2 separate regions of the Homo sapiens genome follow, and region 2 is linked to region 1. Evidence: promoter capture Hi-C in human tissues and cell types (Jung and others, 2019). All regions are on one chromosome and are shown on one strand. The core of a region is centred on a gene start or on the middle of the fragment in contact, and the rest is flanking DNA. Distances in the headings are between cores, read along the strand shown.

Evidence for each region. Contacts are between HindIII fragments. The study calls those that stand out against the background at their distance.
Region 2: a contact is called between a fragment that was not itself captured here and the fragment with the promoter of SFRP1 in region 1, in 1 of the 25 tissues and cell types used here (IMR-90 fibroblasts).

The regions. Positions count from the first base shown.
Region 1 is chr8:41,308,040-41,311,719 of GRCh38, forward strand. It overlaps SFRP1 (secreted frizzled related protein 1), which reads right to left and starts at 1,434. Exons shown (of 3, transcript NM_003012.5): 1 at 577-1,434. The coding sequence starts at 1,120. RefSeq lists enhancers at 1-383, 384-1,154, 3,074-3,601. The HindIII fragment of the contact is 13,871 bases long and covers 1-3,680 here.
Region 2 is chr8:40,456,177-40,459,862 of GRCh38, forward strand. No RefSeq gene overlaps it. Among named protein-coding and RNA genes, the nearest start is that of SIRLNT, 110 kb to the left of the region's middle. The HindIII fragment of the contact is 6,301 bases long and covers 1-3,686 here.

The DNA of each region.
Region 1 (3,680 bases), core at 184-2,683:
GTTTTGCAGCAATCCCAAGGCTACTTGACTGAATGACCAGTGAAGGAAAGGGCTTGGTTTTATTTTTTAAATCTTTGTCGAACCTATGAAAATAAACAAAAGCTGCTCCAAGCATTCTCTCGGCCTTTCTGAACTTTCTACGCTTTGGGTTTTTGTTTTTTCCTCCCGTCTCAGAGGTTAAAAACTTCGATAGGGACTCGGAGTCCTCCTAGAGGAGAGGGAAGCTCCCCTGTTATTTAAAGCGCAAGGCTTTGTTTCAGGTATGGGAAAGGCGAAGTTGGATCCCAGGAAGAGCGGCTCCGGGGACCACAGCGAGTCCCTGCGAGGCCAAGGCGCAGAGCTGCCGCTCCCGGGCCAGCCCCGCCGTGCACCTGGGTCGCGAGGGGCGCTGAGCGATACCTGGGACAGACCAGACGCGCTTAGGAATCACGTGCACAGCATGCGAGCAACCTCGGGCCCTCAGTCCCCAGCACCGGGACCCAGCGGCGGGCGGGCGTAGGGTGGCGCGGGTTCTCCTGCAGCTCCGGCCGGGGGATGGAGGGGGCGGCTCGCGCACGTGGGAGGAGGCAGCCTTACCTTGGGGCTTGGAGGCTTCGGTGGCATTGGGCGGCGTCATGGCGATGCAGACGTCCCCCTCGGGGAACTTGTCACACTTAAGCATCTCGGGCCAGTAGAAGCCGAAGAACTGCATGACCGGCTCGCACGAGTCGCGCACGGCCTCGCAGAGCCAGCGACACGGGTAGATGGGCCGGTCCAGGCAGACGGGCGCGAAGAGCGAGCAGAGGAAGACCTGGGTGCCGGCGTGGCAGTTCTTGTTGAGCAGGGGCACCCAGCTGCTGGCCTGCTGCTTCACCTCCGCCATGGTCTCGTGCTCCAGCAGGTTGGGCAGCACCATCTTCTTGTAGCCCACGTTGTGGCACAGCCGCAGGTCCGCGGGGATGTCCACGCACTGAGGTGGCTTGGTGTAGAAGCGCCCGCTCTGGTACGGGCCGATGTCCGACTGGAAGCTCACGTAGTCGTACTCGCTGGCCGAGCCCACGGCCAGAAGCGCCGCGCCCAGCGCCAGCAGCACGCCCAGGGCTGCCCCGCGGCGGCCCCCCTCGCTGCGCCCGATGCCCATGCCGGCTCTGCGCCCTGTTCTCCGCGACGTCGGGGCTGCCTCCGCCGCCTCCCCGCGCGCGTCCTGCCGCAAACTTCCAGGGACCTCCGGGGACAAAAGGCGCAGTCCCCAGCGTTGCCCGGCTCCGCGGCCGCAAGCTGCTGCCCGGTCCCCCCGGCCAGTGGCGGCCCTCGGCCTGCGGTCGGAGGCGGCGCGGGCGGGGAGGCGGCGCTGCGGGCTGGGTGCGCCCCGGCTCCCGGAGGTGCGGCGAGCAGGAAGGCGCGGGGCGGCGGGCGCGCGGCACTGACTCCGGAGGCTGCAGGGCTGGAGTGCGCGGGGCTCCTACGGCCGAGCCCTCGGAGCCGCCCCGCGCAGCCAATCAGCTCCCGGCGGGGCGAGCCGCACTCGTTACCACGTCCGTCACCGGCGCGGGAGCCAATCGCCTCCCTCGCGAGCGGGTTCGGTTTACTAGAACCAGACGCGGCTCAACACCCCTTAAAAAACAAAACCAAAAATACATAAATAAAAGGGGGAGGAGGAAAGAGACAAGGGGAGAAAAAGAAGGGGAATGGATCACGGCGTGGGGTGGAGAGAGACCAGGGCGGACGCTGTAATTAACTCGCATTGGCTTGCAGAGAAGCGGGGAGCCTGGATCATACTTGCAAACCCATGAAATTATGAAGACTTTTTTTTTTTGAGACAGTTTCGCTCTTGTTGCCTAAGCTGGAGTGCAATGGCGCTATCTCCGCTGACTGCAACCTCCGCCTCCCGGGTTCAAGCGATTCTCCTGCCTCAGCCTCCCGAGTAGCTGGGATTACAGCCGCGTGCCACCATGCCCCCGCTAATTTTTTGTATTTTTAGTAGAGACGGGGTTTCACCATGTTAGCCAGGCTGGTCTCGAACTCCTGACCTCAGGTGATGCTCCTGCCTTGGCCTCCCAAACTTTTTTTTTCTTTTTCTTTACACTGCTTCCTAATTTCAACCAACAGCCCTTTAGACTAGCGGCTCCTCTCCTCGGTTCTCTAGCTGCGGTGCAGACAGGTGGTTTCCCAACTAACAGGGGTTCAGGAAGGCTGAAGCGAGGGAGGTCTGCTTGTAAATACCCAGTGGGCCTGGCTGGGCTCCCTGGAAGGCGAGGCGAAGGCGCAGTTGGAGCTGTTTGCTGTGAGCAGCACCTCTCCAGGTGGGGCCGCCCATGGTGGCCCTCAACACTGGGGCAGTGGGTGGACTTTGCCCGGTGTGGCGGCAGGAAGAGCTGCTAGCAACGGTATTAGCTCTGGGAGGACACTTTTTTAAATATATAATATATATTTAAATAGAAAAACCCTACTCAAGTCCTAGCCCGGGCGACAGCACATCTGTGTGTTTGTGGTGTGGAAAGCCAAAACATTAAAAACACATGTGCACTTATCAGCGTGGCTGGTGTAAATACCAAGTCCATCACTCAGGCACACATGCTAAGGTTAGACCCAGTCCAGGAACTTCAAGTTAAAATCAAGGGTCCCCACTAGGGCAGACGCCAAGAGGACGGTATCAGCACAACAGCTCGGCCCCCAGGAACAGAAGTCTCTCTGCCACCTTCTACCTCGAATTCCTGAGAATTCTTCGTAGGTTTCAAACATTCCCCTGAGAGGGAGGGTTAAGCTCTGGAGAGCTGGGAGTGAGACCCGGACTATCCCGGGACAGAAGACCACAGCAAATAGTTCATGAAGTTCCTGGAGTCTCCATATCTTCTGTCCCTAAGTGCGGGTGGAGAGAGGCTGATATATTCATAGCCCAGTCTGAGCGCACACCCCATGTGGCAAAGGGGTCACAGATCTTAGCGCTCCACAGAGACACTATAGGGCGCGCTGCCTTGCCCGCCAGCTTGTTTGTAAAGCTCTAGGGAGCTTGCTTTGGACTCTGCAAACCTAATTTCTTGATGGACAGATTCCAAGTGAAATGACTAGAGTTTGTGAAGAAGCAGGGCTGTTTTCTTAAAGCATTCGTGCCCGTACAGACACGGTGATTCCACGGTGCACACAGGAGGCTTCTGCAGATGGATGACTTCTCTGTCATTTCGTGGCCAATGGAAGATGCCTTGACACTCAAAAGGTGACATGGAGGCTGGAAGGAAAACACAGAGAAGAGAGAGCAAGATCGGGATGGCCAAGGGTTAATCCCAAGACAATTGGTGAGGCCGGCCTGTGGAGCTGAGGAAGACATTCCTCACAGAGAATAAGACCGCAGGAGACCCGGCAACTGTGTCTCAATTCAAGGGGCATTTAGAGAAAAATGCTGTTTGGTAGGGGGTCTTTTTGTCTCCTAGGGCCAGGCCCTCCACCTCAAGCCAAATGCGTCTGTTTGCTCACTGCAAAGATGGATGTTTGCAGATAACATCCTCTCACCTCTGAACCCAGGCTTAGCTGACCGCTCACTCACGTTTTCAGTTTTCCCGAATGGCAGGAGGACTTGTGTCTGTCCACGGTTAAATGCTGGAAATTCGTCCAGGTGACTGCCCTGGAAGTCCCAAGTCAGGAGTAAATCTCACAAATCCATTCAGGGGAAGACCTCGCCTATGTCTGGTCACTCCGAGTAGACT
Region 2 (3,686 bases), core at 593-3,092, 850 kb before region 1:
AAATTATTGGCAGCCACAAATTGAACTCTCTTTGTAATATCCTGTTTTAGCTTCAGCTCTTGAATTTCCCTTTGTTTGCTTTTTCTTTTGCTTTTATCTCTTCTCTCTTTTAATCAAGTGCCTCTTCCCTTCAGAAATAGCTTACAGGCTATTTTATATTCTACAGTGTAGGTCCAGATTTTTAAATAGAGGGAAATGACTTTCATACATTCTTTTTTCAGCTCATTGTGGTGGTCTAGAAAAAAAATAGGTAAAGCTGTGACTTATCACACATATAAATCCTGGGCTTGCACCTTTCAGAGTTGGTTATTGGTCTTTGTGAAATGTATGGTGTGGAGGCTCCACATTAATGCACCTTTCCTTCTCGTCACTTCAGGCGGAAAAATCCATTCCTGACTGCAGTGGTGAAGTGGATGCATGGAATCCCCAGCAAGGTCCTGGCAGGCAAGTCCTTGTTGGCCCCAATAAATCAATGATGGTGGCGGGAGACTCACTCCCTCCACGGGCTCCGCATAAGCCAGAGCACGCAGTGGCAGACAAAGGAGGGTGAAACCAGCATGTGTGTGCCTCTCATAAATGCTTTCCCTATGTTCATAAATTGTCATTTAATTTTAATAACAACCAATTAGAAGATGATTGTGAAACCATTAAACAGATGAATAAACTGAGGCTACCAGAGATTATGTCTTTCCCCAGGCTATACTGCTGGTGGGTAATCAAGCCAGGATTACTACCCAGATTTGTCCGACTGCAATACTCATATTCTTTTTACCAGGCACCGTGCAAAGTGGTGTGCATGTATTTTCTCATTTAATCATGATAAAAATCCTCAAAGATGGATATTAGCATCTCAGATTTACAAATAAAGAAACTGAAGCTTTGCAGAATTCATTAACTTGCCTGAGTTCTTGCTGTTATGAAGTGGCAGAGGGCACTCCAACCCAATCTCACTCCAGAGTCCACATTTGTAATTACCCCACCAAACAGCCACAGCACTTGATCCCCAAGAGGGTGGCATGAAATGCTCAATGCCTTATGTTCAGAGCAGGCAGATTTTGACTTCAGTAGGCAAGATCTCTCAGACTTCTGTTTGGCTTCCATCAATATGTACTTAAGCCCCAGGGAGCTGCCCCAGACAAACTATGTGCTGATCTCCCCAAGACAGGCGCATTTGCTCAGCACACCCATTTCCATCAGCATTTTTTTTTTTTGAGTTTACTGCTCAGTTGGGGCAGCTGCACCATCAGCAACCCATCTGGCAAAAGCTGCAGCCCACTTGTCTGTAAAGGATGCACCAGGAGGGCTTGACAAAAGGGAGCAGCTTTGCTACCAGCAGCAGGATCCCATTTGGAAACAGAAGCAGGGGGCCTGGAGTCCTGCAGTCACTACTCTGCAGGCCCAGCCAACCCTGGCAGCAGGAGCCAGTTGCTATGGGACAACTCTGTTAACTTTTGTGCATAAGAACTGCTTACCAGAGTCTCAGCTGTCCCCATCTCCCTTCAAACAAAACAGTGTCAGCAGAACCCCTGTCCTACAGAAAACAAACAAACAAACAAACAAAAACCCTATGGAGTCAGAACTCACTAGGAAAACAGTAAACCAAACTAAACCAAAAGCAAAACAAACTCAAACTTCATCATAGAAAAATGGCTTACACCCTGGGTTCTACAACTGGGGTCTGTAGCATGTACTCCTAGTGCTTCAGAATTTCTATTTTAGGAATGAATCCTTTCTTCTTGGTATTCTGGCATCCTCCTTAAAACTGTTGAACTCTCCCTTGGGTTTATTTAGTTATTTTTCAAAAAAGCAAGTGGGGAAGCATTAAGTCTGTCACTGGAGGAAGCGTAATGCTGGGAACGAGGGAACTGGTTTCACGGTGGGTGGCTTTGACATGGCAGCTCTTCCAGAGCTCTAGCCCAGAGGCTGGATGGCCAGCAACAGGTGCACCTTTGATAGCAAAGGAGCTGCCTTGAAGAGGGGCTCAGAAACCTCAGTGCACTTCAGGAAGAAGCCCGGGGAACTGTGAAGCACACCTCACCTTGAAGTCTTCCCAAGGTGGTAAAAAGGTATTACTTTTAAGATGGGCTCCCAGCAGTCCTTCTTCACATGGATCAGGACTCCACCTACAGTTCTGGCCAGATGGAAGCCATCCCTGATGTGAGAAGGCAGCAATTGCTCATCACAGCAGAGAGGAGCGAGCAACGGTGAGATTGAAAGGGAACAAGTGCAGAGTGAGGAAGTAACGTCTACAGGGCATTTGAGGACTGAGGCACAGGCTCTGGGCTCAGAAGTTTTAGGGAATGGCAGCTGCCAAATGCTAGCATTAACTGAGGAAAAGAATGCATTCCTGGGAGGCCGAGGCAGGCGGATCACCTGAGGTCAGGGGTTCGAGACCAGCCTGACCAACATGGCGAAACCCTGTCTCTACTAAAAATACAAAACTTAGCTGGGCATGGTGGTGGGCACCTGTAATCCCAACTACTCGGGAGGCTGAGGCAAGATAATTGCTTGAACCCGAGAGGTGGAGGTTGCAGCGAGCCATGATCGTGCCATTGCACTCCAGCCTCGGCAACAGAGCAAGACTCCATCTCAAAAAAAAAAAAAAAAAAAAAAGAATGCATTCCAAAGCATGCTATGCTTTGGTCCTAGGGTAAAACCTGCATTTATGGAAAGTATCTTATCCCCTGATGCACTAGTTATTGCTCCAAGACCCAAAGAAACTTGACTGATAACCAAACAGGGGGGGAAAAAGGAATAAAAACTTGGAATGTTACCATTTGGGAACAGAAGAGTAACATCTTGACAGTCTGTTCTCCACAGGGAAATACTGAGATATATCACAGAAGGTCATGTTTATTCCAGGATTAACAATCATAAAAGTTAGAGATACCCCTGAAATACATAAGGCTTATAACCTCGAAACTGAGAAAACTGTTCTTTGTTTACTAATGTCTAATAATTCCACTTCTCCCAGGGGATCAGATGTATGAAGTTACGTTTGCTTCAGTCAATTGAGAATGGCGGAAGTGATTCTATGCCATTAAGTCATAAAAAGTCAAGCAGTTTCCACCAGATTCAATTAGGGGCCTCCCTCTCAGAACCCATAAACTCCCCTAAGAGATGCTCCAGCCACATGGAGATGCCATGTGCAGATATTTTAAGTCTTCAAGTAATGCTAGCCTACGTAACAGATATGTGAAGAAAGAAGGCCTGAGTTTATTCCAGATCCCAGCTATTTAAGTCATCCTAGCTAAGGCCTCATTGAGCAAGGACCATGAGTGATTTGCCATGAAAATTTAGGATAGGAATCTGGATGGGCATGGTGGCTCATTCCCATAATTCCAGTGCTTTGGGGGGCCAAGGCAGTAGGATCCCTTGAGGCCAGGAGTTTGTGGCCAGCCTGGGCAACATACTGACACCTCCTCTCCACAAAGAAATAAAAAATTAGCTGGGCACGGTGGTGCATGCCTGTAGTCCTAGCTACTTGGGAGACAGAGGAAGGAGGATTCCTTTAGTCCAGGAGGTTGAGGCTGCAATGAGCTATGATTGTGCCACCACACTCTAGCCTGAGGGACAGAATGAGACCCTGACTAAAAAAAAAAAAAAGAAACAAAACAAAACAAAAAACCTCCCAAAACAAAAATAGCACAAGTATGAAATGGTGTACCGTAACCATCGATGTATTT